Linked DNA regions of Homo sapiens: all the other regions are linked to region 3. Evidence: promoter capture Hi-C in 16 types of primary human blood cells and fetal thymus (Javierre and others, 2016). All regions are on one chromosome and are shown on one strand. The core of a region is centred on a gene start or on the middle of the fragment in contact, and the rest is flanking DNA. Distances in the headings are between cores, read along the strand shown.

Region 1 (3,368 bases), core at 313-2,812, 790 kb before region 3:
TTGTATTTCATAATTTTTTTTTCTTTTGGAGAGAGAGTCTCGCCCCGTAGCCCAGGCTGGAGTGCAGTGGCATGATCTTGGCTCACTGCAACCTCTGCCTCCTGGGTTCAAGTGATTCTTGTGCCTCAGCCTCCTGAGTAGCTAGGACCACAGGCACATGCCACCATGCCTGGCTAATTTTTGTATTTTTAGTAGAAATGGGGTTTCACCATGTTGGCCAGGCTGGTCTCGAACTCTTGACCTCAGGTGATTCACCCACCTTGGCCTTCCAAACTGCTGGGATTACAGGCGTGAGCCACTGCACCCGGCCTGTATTTCATAAAATGTAACACTTGAATGCAATGATATCAATTCGGCTAAACAGAAAGTTCCTAAGATCATTTGATGTCTATCTTTTTGCCCAACTGATCAAGACAAATTTGTATTTAAATAGCAGTGTCCCTTAATCATAATATGTAAACAAAGTCACCAATGAGCATCTAGGATTAATGGAGAAGATCAGTGCCTTTGGCTTCAGAAAAACTGGGCTAGACCCCCAGTTCTGCTGCTAATGTGCTGTGTGATTTTGGCAGAACTCTTAATCTCTATGCATCTCAGTCTTCTCCCCTTTAGAAATGGGAGTAATTCTACCTTTTTCACAGAGTTGTTGGGATATAGTACATATAAAAATGCCTGTCATGATGCCTGGCATATTGTAGGTGCCTGATGAATGTTGAGTAAAGAAAACATGCTTTGGCAACAAATTTCTCTTCTCTTCTGACTTTCCCCAATTACAATGGCAGCTGAGTCATATTTTGGAGCCATTCTGAAGCCCAAGTTTCAGAAACAACAACAGCAGCAGCAGCAGCAGCAACAACAACATATGGGTAGCTTTGCTTTGCTCTAAGAGCATTGGATGAACTTCCAGTCTTGGTGTAAATGCCCTGGTAGAGTGAAGGCCCTGGTGTCTGAGGCTCAGCGTCCAGTCCTGGAGTTCACCATCCATTCCCAGGTGCCCTCCCTCTGCCCAGCCCTCTGGCTCCAGAGCGGACTGAAGGTCTCCCACATGCTTAAGGGGTCCAATTTTTAAGCCTCATTCACTGTGCTGTGTGAAGCAGGGATGGCAACTACAGCTCACAGGTCAAACCCCACTGCTACTTGTTTTGGTAAATCAAGTTTTATTGGAGCATAGCCACACCCATTCATTTCCCTGTTGTCTATGTCTGCTTTGTGCTACAATGGCAGAGCTAAGTAGTTGCAGTACAAAGAGAGTATACGACTTGCAAAGCCTAAAATATTTAGCATCTGTCTTTTTAACAGAAAAAGCTTGTCCATCTTGGTGCAGAGGAAACAGAATGTGCTAGGGGCCCTGGGACCAGTCCTGGCTCTGTATCTGACTTGCTTGGCATCCCTGGGGAGCTCACTGTCCTTCTCTGGTCTCTGAAGCACGAAAGGTTGAATTAGTACTTGGAAGTTTTCTTTAGTTCTAATAACTTAGCAGTCTTTGCTCTATTGCTCTTTAGGGATTCCTGAGGCTCTTATCAGAGAATTTTACTTTTTTGGGTATTGAAGGTCAGTGGAGAGGACGATTCATCTTAGAGCCAATGCCATTCCTAGAGAGAGGCCAGATAGTCACTCAAGGAACAAAGTCTAACTTTTCAATGGGGCATCTCTAAAGAGAAAACATTTAACATTTCTTTTCACAACAGAAGGCAGTAACAAGAAGTCCAAAGTCAGCCCTTTCTTTCATAAAGTGGGGAGCTACTTCTGAGGACTGAATAACTGCTGATGGGTTGTTCTGATGGCAGAACAAATGAGGATTCATTGGGGGAAAGCTTGTGTATCACATCTGCTCCTATGGCAGGTGAATAAAAGCTCTGGGTGAGGAAACACTCACACCTGAGCACCTGGCCCTTGTCACCAATCTGCAACTCAACTGTCTAGGACCATGGCTTCTAGTTAAAGCAGAAATCCCTGCTCCTCAAGCTTTGGCAAGAGCCATTTGAAGCCTCCTTGCTCCAGACAGGCTGTGGCCAGAAACCACTCTAGAAACTCTGTACCCAATGTCTGTAGATCCCAGTATTAAGACTGGGGCCCACCTGTAAGAGAGTCACCAACCTAGTAGCCATCTCCTTAGAACCTGTGGCTCACAGTCAGTCCAGCCTGGCCCTGCCAGCAGTCACTCTGCCTGTCCTCTGCCAGGGACCAGGAACATCCCTGCCAGTATGGGCACCTGTGGCTGGTTCAGTGAAGACATCCTCAGCAGCAGTGGGAAAGGGATCATGCAGTTCTTAAGTGAGTGCCTGGCCAACTGCTTGCAGAAGTTGCAGCAGTTGGAGCAGGAGAATGAGAAGCAGGGGTGGTGCTGAGAGCCAGCAGTGGAGCAAACGGCAGTGCCCTGACATATGCTCCAATTACTGCTCACACTTTGAGACCATTAAGGAGCTCCAACAAAAAGTAAGATGAGGCCTTGAGCTCTGGTGTCAGTGGCATGGAAAGAGAGGGCTGAGGATTGGTGATGGGAGAATTGGAGGGGTTGCCTGGGGGGATGACAGTCCATGAATGTTCATAAAGATGGATTGAAGGTGCCAGAAATAAACTGTGATGTCAAGGGCCCAACCACTTGGTTCTACAACCAGTTCCATTCAACAAGCATCATTGCTGATGTCTGCAATGAGAGGACTGTGAGTGGGATATGGATTTATTTCTTCACAATCCAGATCCTGCCTTATTTAAGGACATGCCACCATTCACTCACTAGTTATTGAGCACCAGCAATGAGTGATTGCATCGCTGGGTGCTGGGGAGCAGACAGTGCCTACAAAATGAAGCCTCAGCTCTTTAGCCTGGCATTCAAGGCTGCCATGTTCTCAGCCTCACTTTTTTTTGTAGCTTACCTCTTTCTAATCTTCTGCAAACATCCTGTGCTTCTATCAAACTGCTTTGTCACTTGCCCTATGCTTCTGTCAAACTGCGTTGTCACTCACAAAATGTTTGTTCACATGTGTAGTGCTTTCTTTCTCATCTTTGCATGGCCAAATTCTAGTTGGGCTTCAAAACCCAGGTGATATTCCCCACCTCCTGGAATCCTCTCTAGAAGCTAATCCCCCTGGGATGGATTTTGCCTTCCATGGAATAACCCACAGCCGCATATCTGAACGTCTCTTGTGGCATTCTCATCTTTCTATTTGTTTTGGAGTTCCTGTTCTGTACAAGATGGTGGAAAGGATGAACAACCTAACTTCATTTTTAAAAAATTAATCACATTTATTTAGTATTTTCCATTAAGTGCTGATATTCAGCTGGGATGTAGCAGTCTGTCTCTGTGGCCGTTTCCACATCTCCTTTTAGATTGCTGCCAACAGTGGTTATAATATTTCTGAAATCAT
Region 2 (3,222 bases), core at 116-2,615, 720 kb before region 3:
TTTGAGAAAAAGCCACCATGGATACAAAGATACCTCTGAGCACCCTTGCTCCAATTTTCGTTTCTTGGTGAGTCTGCAGTATTATGCTTCATATTCATGCTTCAGTGCTGCCATCTGAACTCTCACTGCTCCAGACTGTTTCCAGCATATTTTTTCTTCTAGATATTTCTACTCTTGCTCATCTTTAGAGAGGCTGTTGCTTTAGTACAAGTTGGCAAATTTTTTAATTTTAGGGCTTTGTGGACACTATAGTCTCTGTCACAACTACACAACTCTGCCACTGTAGCACAAAAGCAGCCATATACAATAGCTAAACAAATGGGCATGGCTGTGTTCCATTAAAACTTTATTTACTGCCGGACGCATTGGCTCACGCCTGTAATCCCAGCACTTTGGGAGGCCGAGGCGGGCGGATCACGAGTTCAGGAGTTCAAGAGCAGCCTGGCCAACATGGTGAAACCCCATTTCTGCTAAAAACACAAAAATTAGCCGGGTGTGGTGGCGGGCACCTGTAATCCCAGCTACTCGGGGGGCTGAGGCAGATAATTGCTTGAACCCGGGAGGTGGAGGTTGCAGTGAGCCGAGATCGTGCCACTGCACTCCAGCCTGGGCGACAGAGTGAGACTCTGTCTCAAAAAAAAAAAAACAGAAAACAAACAAACAAAAACTTTATTTACAAAAATTCAGCAGGGTAAACTTGACGTGTGGGCTGCCATTTGCAGATGCCCTCTTTTAGGTATACTCCCATCCATTCCATTGGTTTCCATTTTACTTTCTCATTTCTCAACCATGAACATGCCATTGTTTTCAGTTGCTCCATGTGTTGGCAAGTTCCCTAAACCCCAACGAATAGTAAGGCTCAGGATCATTTCGGCGAATACAGGTTGAGTTTCTGCTATAAAAACAAATTGAATGCTGAAACATGGATGAATGTGGGAGGAAAGAGCTACTTGGAAGAGTAACTCTCAAAGCTCTCTCTCAGAGCTCTCTCTCTGGGGAGAAAGAACAGTGGCGGAAACTCCTGGGTGAGGAATCCCTGATTCCCAAACAACTCCACCCCATGTCCCTGGCTGTCCTCCCCTCTGAGTAATGCAGACAGCCTTTTGGGGCTGTGATGATTCTATCTCCTATGAAGCCATCTGATGAAACTCTGATTTCACCAACCACTAGCACCCAGGAAGAGCCTGGTGTGACATAAGCTGAATGGAATAATTTTATGGGTTGAGGGGGGACTCTTTAGAAGCATCTAACTAGCATATTTTGGAGAAAAATTAGCTGAAGCATTAGGAAAGGAAACTATGCTGTATGCCAAGCCCCCACCCACAATTAATGGTATAAAAGGACTGCAGAGGAAGGAGAGACTCAAACCTGCCCACATCCACCTCCAGCAGCTTACCTGCTTTTCCATTACCTGTTCCAGCACCATGTCTTACAGTTGTTGCCTGCCCAGCCTGGGCTGCCGCACCAGCTGCTCCTCCCGGCCCTGCGTGCCCCCCAGCTGCCACGGCTACACCCTGCCTGGGGCCTGCAACATCCCCGCCAATGTGAGCAACTGCAACTGGTTCTGTGAGGGCTCCTTCAATGGCAGCGAGAAGGAGACTATGCAGTTCCTGAACGACCGCCTGGCCAGCTACCTGGAGAAGGTGCGTCAGCTGGAGCGGGACAACGCGGAGCTGGAGAAACTCATCCAGGAGCGGTCCCAGCAGCAGGAGCCCTTGCTGTGCCCCAGCTACCAGTCCTACTTCAAGACCATTGAGGAGCTCCAGCAGAAGGTGAGGGGGTTGGCCATATGGGGGGCCAGCAGCAGCTGGCTCTCTTTGAACAGTAAGACATTTTCAAGTTCAAGTGTACCTCATGAGAGAAATTTCTTTTCAGATTCTGTGTGCCAAGGCTGAGAATGCCAGGCTGGTGGTGAACATTGACAATGCCAAGCTGGCCTCTGACGACTTCAGAAGCAAGTATGTTGAACTTCAAGGTCCCTATGGTTCTTTCATGGCCCTAGGGACCTACTATTGCCTGGAAGAGAGGAGAAAGCCATTTCTCTCTATTTCTCCTCCTAGGGCTGGTTATGTAAAATTAGTTTCAAATAGGGAACTAGACTCATGTGCTGCCTGCTCTTTGGTCTATACTGGTTTTTTTTGGAAGTGTTTCTTAAACCACAAAATTCAGAGATTGAAATGAATTGTTCTTTGGGAATTGATTTGGTGGTATATTAGCTAACAAAACCGAGAACACAGTGAGAGACTTCATCTCATGTGTGCCTGTGGGCTCCTCGTGGTGTTAGGTGAGTCAGGGAACCTCTTCAGCCTATCCATGGACAGCTTGACTGAAGCATATGGAAGAGAAGAGGCAGAAAACTGTAAGTTCAAGAAGATTCAGGCCAATTCTACCCAAACAACACATGAGAGGGGAAGGTGGTTTTCTTTCCTGACTTATCCTCCCACTCCGACACGTGCAGGTACCAGACGGAGCAGTCCCTGAGGCTGTTGGTGGAGTCGGACATCAACAGCATACGCAGGATCCTGGATGAGCTGACCCTCTGCAAGTCTGACCTGGAGTCCCAGGTGGAGTCCCTGAGGGAGGAGCTGATCTGCTTGAAGAAGAACCATGAGGAGGTATGAAACAAATTCACAAAAGCAGGCCTCAGAACTAAGCTACTAGCACTGGGAATCAGGAGAGGATTACTGTCTGGATCCCTGGTCTGGGACCCTTCTCTGAGGAACTCAAGATGTTCTCAGAGAGTGACGGTGCTACATCCATATCAAGGAGTGGAGTGAGCTGCTCATTCTTCAGCGGCTGGGTGAGGGTTAGGCAGGTGTTGGAATTACTGAGGAGGGACATCATTCATTGAGCCCTGCTCTCTGCTGATCACTGCTAGGTCCTGAATTTGGTGGTGGAGATGGAGGGACAAAAAAGAAATAAGACATGGCCCTTTTCTTAAAAGAGCTCACAGTCTAGTATAGAAAGACAGTCATATAAACACAGTGATATAAACAAGACAGAGTGAAACAAGTACCATATGAGATGTACAAGCAGTATGCTCTAGAAATAATCCAGGCTGCCCAAGAGGAGATAGGGAACTCTTCTCAGATGCAAAGAGGAGGATTCCAGTACTTGGGTGTTTCAGTCTGAGGGAAGAGGTTGAACAAAGACACAGAAGTGGCAGGGCAGGGTGTATCTGGGTATGGCTGGGCATGCAGTACCTCCAAGGGATGAAAGTGA
Region 3 (3,534 bases), core at 481-2,980:
TTGTGGTTTGTGTTATATTTCCACTGGACAGTGCTGCTTTATTTAGGGTGCATAAGAAATGCTGGCAGACCTATTTAAAATGCAGATTGCCAGGACTGACCCTCCAGGGAATCTAGTTCAGCTCTCTGTGTTTCAGGCGGATATTAGCAGGAGCTACCTAAAGTAGCAGGAAGCATTTAATTCATTGCTCCCTGAATTTAATTTAGGAATTTAATTCATTGCTTTCTTCTCTCTCCTCCACTCCCAAGCCTAATTCTCTTCATATTTCTCAGTCCCAGTTACCAAGAAAGAGAATCAGTTTGGCCTAGATAATCATTAATGACTCTCTTTAGTCAGAGCTTTCTGTCTCAGCCTACTCCAAAGGTCTCTGACCAATCTATAGATAATCAAGTTGTGACTGATGGGGAAGGTGCAGGAGGTAGGGAGGGGTGGGTCAGAAATAACCTGGAACCTCTCCTCTCACCAGGAGCTGTGGGTAGGACAGCTTTGTTTGGAGAGGGCTGTGAGAATGCCCAGCATAGACTGGCCTGGCCAGATGTGAGTTAATTCAGAAATTAAAAGAGCAGGACATGCATGCAAAGGCCCTGTAAGGGCTAGAACCCAGGTCTGATTATCTCCTGAACTGTGCTCCAGATACAATTCAGCCAAAGCCACTCCACAAATAACAATAATGATAGATCCACTCTCACGACATATTTCTGTCACATCTAGCAACCAGCTGGCAAGATTAAACCAGGAATTTAGAAGGGGAGAGAGAGAACGCAGAGGCAGATATGCAGGGGTAATACATGGAACACAAGCAAGTTGTCAAAGAGCCAGTCCCAGTGATGTCATACATCACTGAGCAACCTTGGGCAAGATGCCTCAACCTCTCTGGCCTCAGTCTTTTCATCTTTACAGGTTAGAAAATGTCAGGGATTGCAAGGATTGGATGGAATGATACGCCAAATACACCCTCCGAAGGGCTCAAGTGATTGCAACGATTGGATGGAATGGTACACTGACTACACCCTCCAAAGGACTCAAGGGTTCTTTTGGTGAATACACCAAAAGGTCTATTTCTTCATCCTTGTTAAAACTTTGGAAATGTTAACTCACAACTCTCATAGTCTACCAGCACTTATCTGCAACATTTTGAGAAAACTAAATATAATTTTCTTTTTTTTTTTTTTTTTTTTTTTTGGAGATGGAGTCTCACTCTGTCACCCAGGCTGGAGTGCAGTGGCTCAATCTCGGCTCACTGCAACCTCCACCTCCTGGGTTCAAGCAATTCTCCTGCCTCAGCCTCCCGAGTAGCTGGGATTACAGGCACCCACCACCACGCCCAGCTAATTTTTGTATTTTTAGTAAAGACAGGGTTTCATCATGTTGGCCAGGCTGATCTCGAACTCCCGACCTCAGGTGATCCACCCACCTCAACCTCCTAAAGTGCTGGGATTACAGGCATGAGCCACCATGCCCGGCAATTTTCTTATGTTATGCCCCATTTCCTTTTCACAAAAATGAACTCCCCCTCCCCTCAAAGTGCTCAATTTTTACAGGGAACCAGTACAGGTTTTTGAAATTTTCCTTTCCTTCATGAAGAATCTGACATTTCTACTATACCAATAACAATAGGAGCAAAGAGTTTACCCTGTATTTGCATAATTAGTTAGAAAGATGAGAATTTCCGTGGCCTCCGAAAAAGGAGCTCTGCATCTTTAAAACTCTGCGAGGCTCCCTGCCTTCCGCGCAGACCGAGCAGACTGCCGCAGCGACTCATCCTATCGATAAGGTTCAGTTAGCCAAGGTGGAGGATGGGAAAAGAATGGAACTGTCCCAGCTACTCAATGAGATCAGGGCAAACTATGAAAAGATCCTCACCAGAAATCAGATAGAGACGGTGCTCTCAACAAGGATCCAGGTAATGATTTCATACAGACAGGCACCTTCCAGAATAAGGAGACAGTCCATGTCTACCCAATTCCTGTCCCGGCCTCTCTGAGGTACAGTATTTCCTTTTCGATGCAGCATCTATTGGGGAAGGAATTTAGCTTCTACTGCAGTGTGACTGGGACTACAGGGGGAAATACTGTGATTATATTGTTAAATTGCCATTAAGTAAGTGTTGATTGATGCATTTGATTTTTATATAAATTGTGAGGTTCCTATCATTAACATGGGGTCAACATACCATAAAATGGTGCACTCTAACCTCTTACAATCTTCAGGAAGGAACCATTCCAAATACCCTTCAAAGATATTATTGGAGTTATTTACAGAGATAATTTAAATAACATCTTTAAAATGAAAAATCTTTAAGTAAGATTTATTAGCATGTACACTTTCTAGAGATATTTCTAAAAGGTTTCTATCATCTTTTTAACGAGTTCCATTTTATACCAGATTGTTATAAATAGAAATCATCTGAGTGTGTGAACATGGCATTCAGAAACAATGATATAAATTATGACCATTGAAATTCCCCAAATTGGTAACGATTCTCCACTAAGATTTTTGCTTCTGTACTATAAGATGAGAAACATTTCTTTCCATTACAAAGCTTGTAATATTTAAGTATTTAAAAAAGAGAAAGAGAGCCTACTTAGATAAGGACTAAATCCTAATTTCATAGACTTAGTTTTAAAGTAACAATCACCTTCAGCAAGTAATTAAGGTCTCAAGTCTTTAAACAAATTTACAAACAAATATTTTAGAAACAAAGATTAAGAAATTTAGGGGATTTTTTAGTTTACCTATCATATATGGGTTCAAGTTATCTTCCAAACCCTGAAATACAGCAAAAAGTTTACTTAAGAATATCACCCAAAATTTTAAAAAAAAAAATTGGTAGAAAAATGTCAGGCCTTTATTCCATTAGCCACTCATTTTTAGTTCCATTGTAAATTTCACCTCTAGATAACATTTTCAGCCTTCATAAAGAATGATCAACATCTTAGATTAAGCAAAGTCACTGGTACAGGTAAGCATTGGGATAGTTCATTCACCTTTACAAACAGAAGAAAAAAATCAATAGATGACAACTTCTAAAAATCATAAACAAAACACTTAACTTTGCAGTAGTAGAAATATGAGTTTAGTTTACAAGTCACAGGGCCAAAATGAGTAAATTCAAATGAAAAAGCAAGACTACGGTGAGTTTTGTTTAAAGTGTCTTTTAATTTGAAACTACTTTAGAGGATTTTCTTCCAAATAACTCAGAAAGTCAGCTGAAATAAATTCAAGACAGCCTGATTAGTTATTTTTTTAAATTTCTAAATAAGCTATTTTAGTTACAGATTGTTGTATAACACCCCAAAACTCATCTGGGACCTCAATCGTCTTGGGGCATGACTGGGCTCACTTATGTGTCTGGCACTTTGGCAGGGCATTGCCGAAAGGCTGGCTCTGCTGGGACTTTCTCTCTCACTTCACGTAGCCTCAGGGTCTCTCTCCATCTGGCCTTTCTACAGGATCTCTCCAGCAGGGTATCCAGACTTCTTGCATATTGGCCCAAGGCTCCCAAAAGCATAGAAGTGGAAGCTATCAGGCTTC
Region 4 (3,497 bases), core at 335-2,834, 990 kb before region 3:
AGAGGGGAACTGACCCAGGCTGAGCAGGAGTCCCAAGGAAGGGCCCAGGTGCTGCCTGCCACCAGGACCCCCGCATTACAGAGGCCTCTCTTGCAACAAGAAAGCTTGGAACTCATAGAGGTGTCCAGAACCTCCACATTCCAAATGATGGTATCATTCTTGGGGCAGGAGGGAAAGGAGGCAGAGCCTGTTCCCCACTCTCACTTTCCCAGATGCCACAGGGACCCAGACTCCCTGTGTCTCTCATATCCCGAGACGCAGACCCTGTCAGGGAAGGGGCATGTGGCAGCGGGGCAGGCATGCCTGTGCCAGGCTGGGGCCACCAAGCACTGGTGGCAGCATAGACCTTGGGGTCTCTCTGTGCACAGCAGGGCCACCAGCAGGGCCAGGGCAAAGGTCTTCATGGTGTGGGAACTGCTCATTCTCGCTCTCTCTGGCCGGGCTGCAAGGCAAGTGGTCCCTTCCCCTGCCCCGCCATCTTTTGGCCTCACCTTCCTCCCTCCCCATGGAAGGCCCACACTCCTGTGTTCCTTGTGGCACTGCCTGGTCACAATCTCAAGTCCTCTTCCTTTCTTCCCTACCTGCACCCCCCACCCCCTAATTCAAGCCTCGGCGTCTCCACCCTCCCCAAGCCATCCCTGCCCCATCAACGAGGGCCAGCTCTATGCCCCTGATGACCTGCCAGCCTCCTGAGCCAGGCTGTGCACTCTCTGACTGCCAGGCCAGCCTCTGTCCTGCTTCCCCTACTTCCTGCTCAGAGCCGGTCATGCTGAGGCTGCGATGGAGACCTGGGAGCAGGAGGCAGCAGGGGATTCCTTGGGCTGTGGCTCTCATCATTGCTGAGAGAGGGAGAAAGGGCCCGGCCATTCCTGACCACAGCCCTGGGCTCCTGCACTCAGCCGGGCACTCACTGCATGCCAGCCTCAGACAGGGCAGTAGGGCCGCCTGGATGTGTACTGAGCCCTTCCAGCCAGGGCTTCAAGGCCGGGTCACAACTCCCGGCTCAGTGCCCAACTCCTCAACCCCTCAGCATCCACCTGCCCAGCTCATGACAGGGAGGACAAAACAAAGGAGGCCCCTGTGGGACTACACAGGCCAGCTCCTGACACTATATAGGTGGGGAAACTGGGGCCCAGAGAGGGGCGGTGACTTGTCCAAATTCATGGGCCCAGAGCTGGGCTCCTAGGCCTCTCTCCCGGGCGGCCTGAGTTAGGCCGTGGTGCCGTCAGTCCCGGAAGGTTGGGACACCCACGGCAGTACCTGACTTGCCGGGGCCCAGCCTCCAGCCCACAGCCCTGCTTTGAGCAGCAAGGGAGGCTGCCCCGCCCCCAGCGTCTCCTCCTGCCTGACTGAGTTTCCCAGAGCCAGCAGAAAGGCAGGGCCGATGCAGGTCTGAATCCGCCCAGGGATCTGGCAGTCCCAGCTGGCTTGCCCTGCCCTCGAGCCCTGGGAGCGGGAAGTGAGCCTCCCCACCTCAAATCCTCCACCTTCCCTGCCACCCACACCTTCAGCCCGGGGCCCAAACATGGCAGGGAGCCAGGCCCCTCACCTCCCTCCTTGGTAACCGAGGCAAACACCCAACACTGGAGACTGTTTGTCCTGCCAACGCTGCACCCCAACCTGAGCCCAGACGCCCTGCCGCAGTTGGGAGAAGCCTGGCTGGGGGAGGGGACGTGGCAGGGGCAGCCAGAACCTGTGGGCTTGGGGACCCTTCCCCTCCACTCCAGTTCCCCAGGAGCTTCTGAGTGAGCACAGGGCAGCGGGGCTGTTGTCTCAGCACCTTTGACTGTGAGGCCCCCAACCTCAGCCTCTGCTCCACCCCTAAGACTGTGCGCCCGGAAGGTGGAGAAGGGCTGGCTGGGGTGAGAGGGTCTGTGCTTGAACTACAGCAGAGAAAGAGAGCAGAGGGAGAAAGTTCTCTCTGGCCAGCCCAGCTGTGGGAGGGCTCAGGGAGGGAGGCCAGTGGGCCCTTTCTTTGCAGGCAGGGAGGGATGGGAGATTCTACCAGCGCCAGACCTGGGGGGCTCTGCCTCCTGATCCCCAGGGTCTGGGTGGGCACCGTGAGGCACTCCAGCGTCGCGTTTGGGGGCTGGCTGGGTGGGCAAGGAGGTGGATGTCAGGGCCTGGGGAGGCTGGGGTAAGGTGGCGCCAGGAGGGGACGGGCAGTTTTTCTGGCCTTCACTGGCCTGTGGTTTCCGCAGTGCAGGGCATGGGACTGTGGGGCGATGGAGCAAGGAGGATGGAGTTTCTGTCCCTGGGAAGCCTCTTGTCTGAGGGGAGACATGCCCCGAGCCTTCAGGGACCGCCTAGTCGGAGGGGGAGACACAGCCCTTGTCCTGGGGAGTTTGGAATAACCGTATTGGGGCCAGGGACAGAGGATGATGGAGTCACCCTGCTCTGCATGGAGCACGGGACCACCCGGCCTCACGGGGCTGGGCAGACGCTTCTGTTTCTTCTGCATGGAGCACGGGATCACCTGGCCTCATGGGGTTAGGCAGACGCTTCTGTTTCTTAGGAAGAGGTCTGTTTGCTTCTCAAATGCTTCCCGGGAACCTCCTCCACCACTGCAGCCCTGCACTGTGGGCAGGAATGTCACTAGCCCCCTTTTACGGATGAGGAAACTGAGGCTCAGGCATCTGGGAAAATGTGCTGTGGGCAGCCCCCCCGGACAGAGCTGTGCTGGCACCCTCCAGACAGTGCAGGAGAAGGGCAGGTCCCACAGAGTCCCTGCTGTTCCCCCAAGTCCTGAGGCCAGGGGGTGCTGTCTCTACTCTCAGTCCCCTGCCAGGACCTGTCCCCTGGTTCAATCCCAGGCAGGCCAGCGGGGAGGGTGGGGTGGGAGACTTGGTTCTGCTGAGGCTGCAGCTTCCCTGGCCCACCTAGGCTGAGTCAGGGCTGGGCAGGAGCCGAGGGCAGCAGCTTTCCCAGGGCCAGCCCGGGCGGCGTCCGCATTCCTCACTTGCAGGGTGCGTCTGGGCTTGGCTGAGCCAGGTGTGCTGTGCCCCACCCAGGCCCCCGCCTGCAGCTGAGCCAGCTCAGCGCTGGGGCCTTGTAAGGAAGCTTCTGGCAGCCACCAGGAACGGGGTGTGGGAACTGCTTGGCTTGCATGTCCTTGCTGGGTGGGGTGCAGGCTGGGGGAGATCAGCCTGCTAGAGCCCAAGCTCCCACAGTGGCCAGGGCAATTGGGGTGCCCACTCCTCACCCCCTCCTCACACTCTGCTCTTGCCTCTGCAGTTGGAGAGCTGGAGGCCGAGGCCCCAGGCAGTCTGTGGTTTGGAGCTTTGGTCTTGGTCATTGCTCAGTAGATGCTGGGGGCAGAATGAAGGATGTTCTGAGAGCTGAGGTGGTGGTGAGGGCCCCGCAGTGGCCAGGAAGCAGCAGAGGGACACGTTCTGTTTGCTGCCTCCAGCCTCTAAGGGATGCCTTTGTCCTAAGCAGCTTGGAGCTCTGTGCCAGATGGGGCCCTGGAGTAGAGGCTGTGAGTGCGGACTTGTGCC

What was found. The method cuts DNA at HindIII sites, captures the fragments that hold promoters and counts their contacts. A CHiCAGO score of 5 or more calls a contact.
Region 1: a fragment that was not itself captured here is called in contact with the fragment with the promoter of KRT222 in region 3 in 1 of 17 cell types (M2 macrophages); the score reaches 5.9 in M2 macrophages.
Region 2: the fragment with the promoter of KRT34 here is called in contact with the fragment with the promoter of KRT222 in region 3 in 1 of 17 cell types (M0 macrophages); the score reaches 5.8 in M0 macrophages.
Region 4: a fragment that was not itself captured here is called in contact with the fragment with the promoter of KRT222 in region 3 in 2 of 17 cell types (total B cells and erythroblasts); the score reaches 5.4 in total B cells.

Annotation. Positions count from the first base shown.
Region 1 is chr17:41,452,835-41,456,202 of GRCh38, reverse strand. No RefSeq gene overlaps it. Among named protein-coding and RNA genes, the nearest start is that of KRT32, 13 kb to the left of the region's middle. The HindIII fragment of the contact is 509 bases long and covers 1,308-1,816 here.
Region 2 is chr17:41,380,449-41,383,670 of GRCh38, reverse strand. KRT34 (keratin 34) reads left to right here and starts at 1,365. Exons shown (of 7, transcript NM_001386014.1): 1 at 1,365-1,772; 2 at 1,876-1,958; 3 at 2,459-2,615. The coding sequence starts at 1,425. RefSeq lists an enhancer at 1,173-2,372. The HindIII fragment of the contact is 8,651 bases long and covers 1-3,222 here.
Region 3 is chr17:40,663,373-40,666,906 of GRCh38, reverse strand. It overlaps KRT222 (keratin 222), which reads left to right and starts at 1,730. Exons shown (of 6, transcript NM_152349.3): 1 at 1,730-1,903. The coding sequence starts at 1,808. The HindIII fragment of the contact is 3,418 bases long and covers 1-2,544 here.
Region 4 is chr17:41,653,771-41,657,267 of GRCh38, reverse strand. LOC124904004 (a long non-coding RNA gene) reads left to right here and starts at 2,134. Exons shown (of 2, transcript XR_007065756.1): 1 at 2,134-3,497. RefSeq lists enhancers at 2,323-3,019, 3,020-3,497. The HindIII fragment of the contact is 2,956 bases long and covers 107-3,062 here.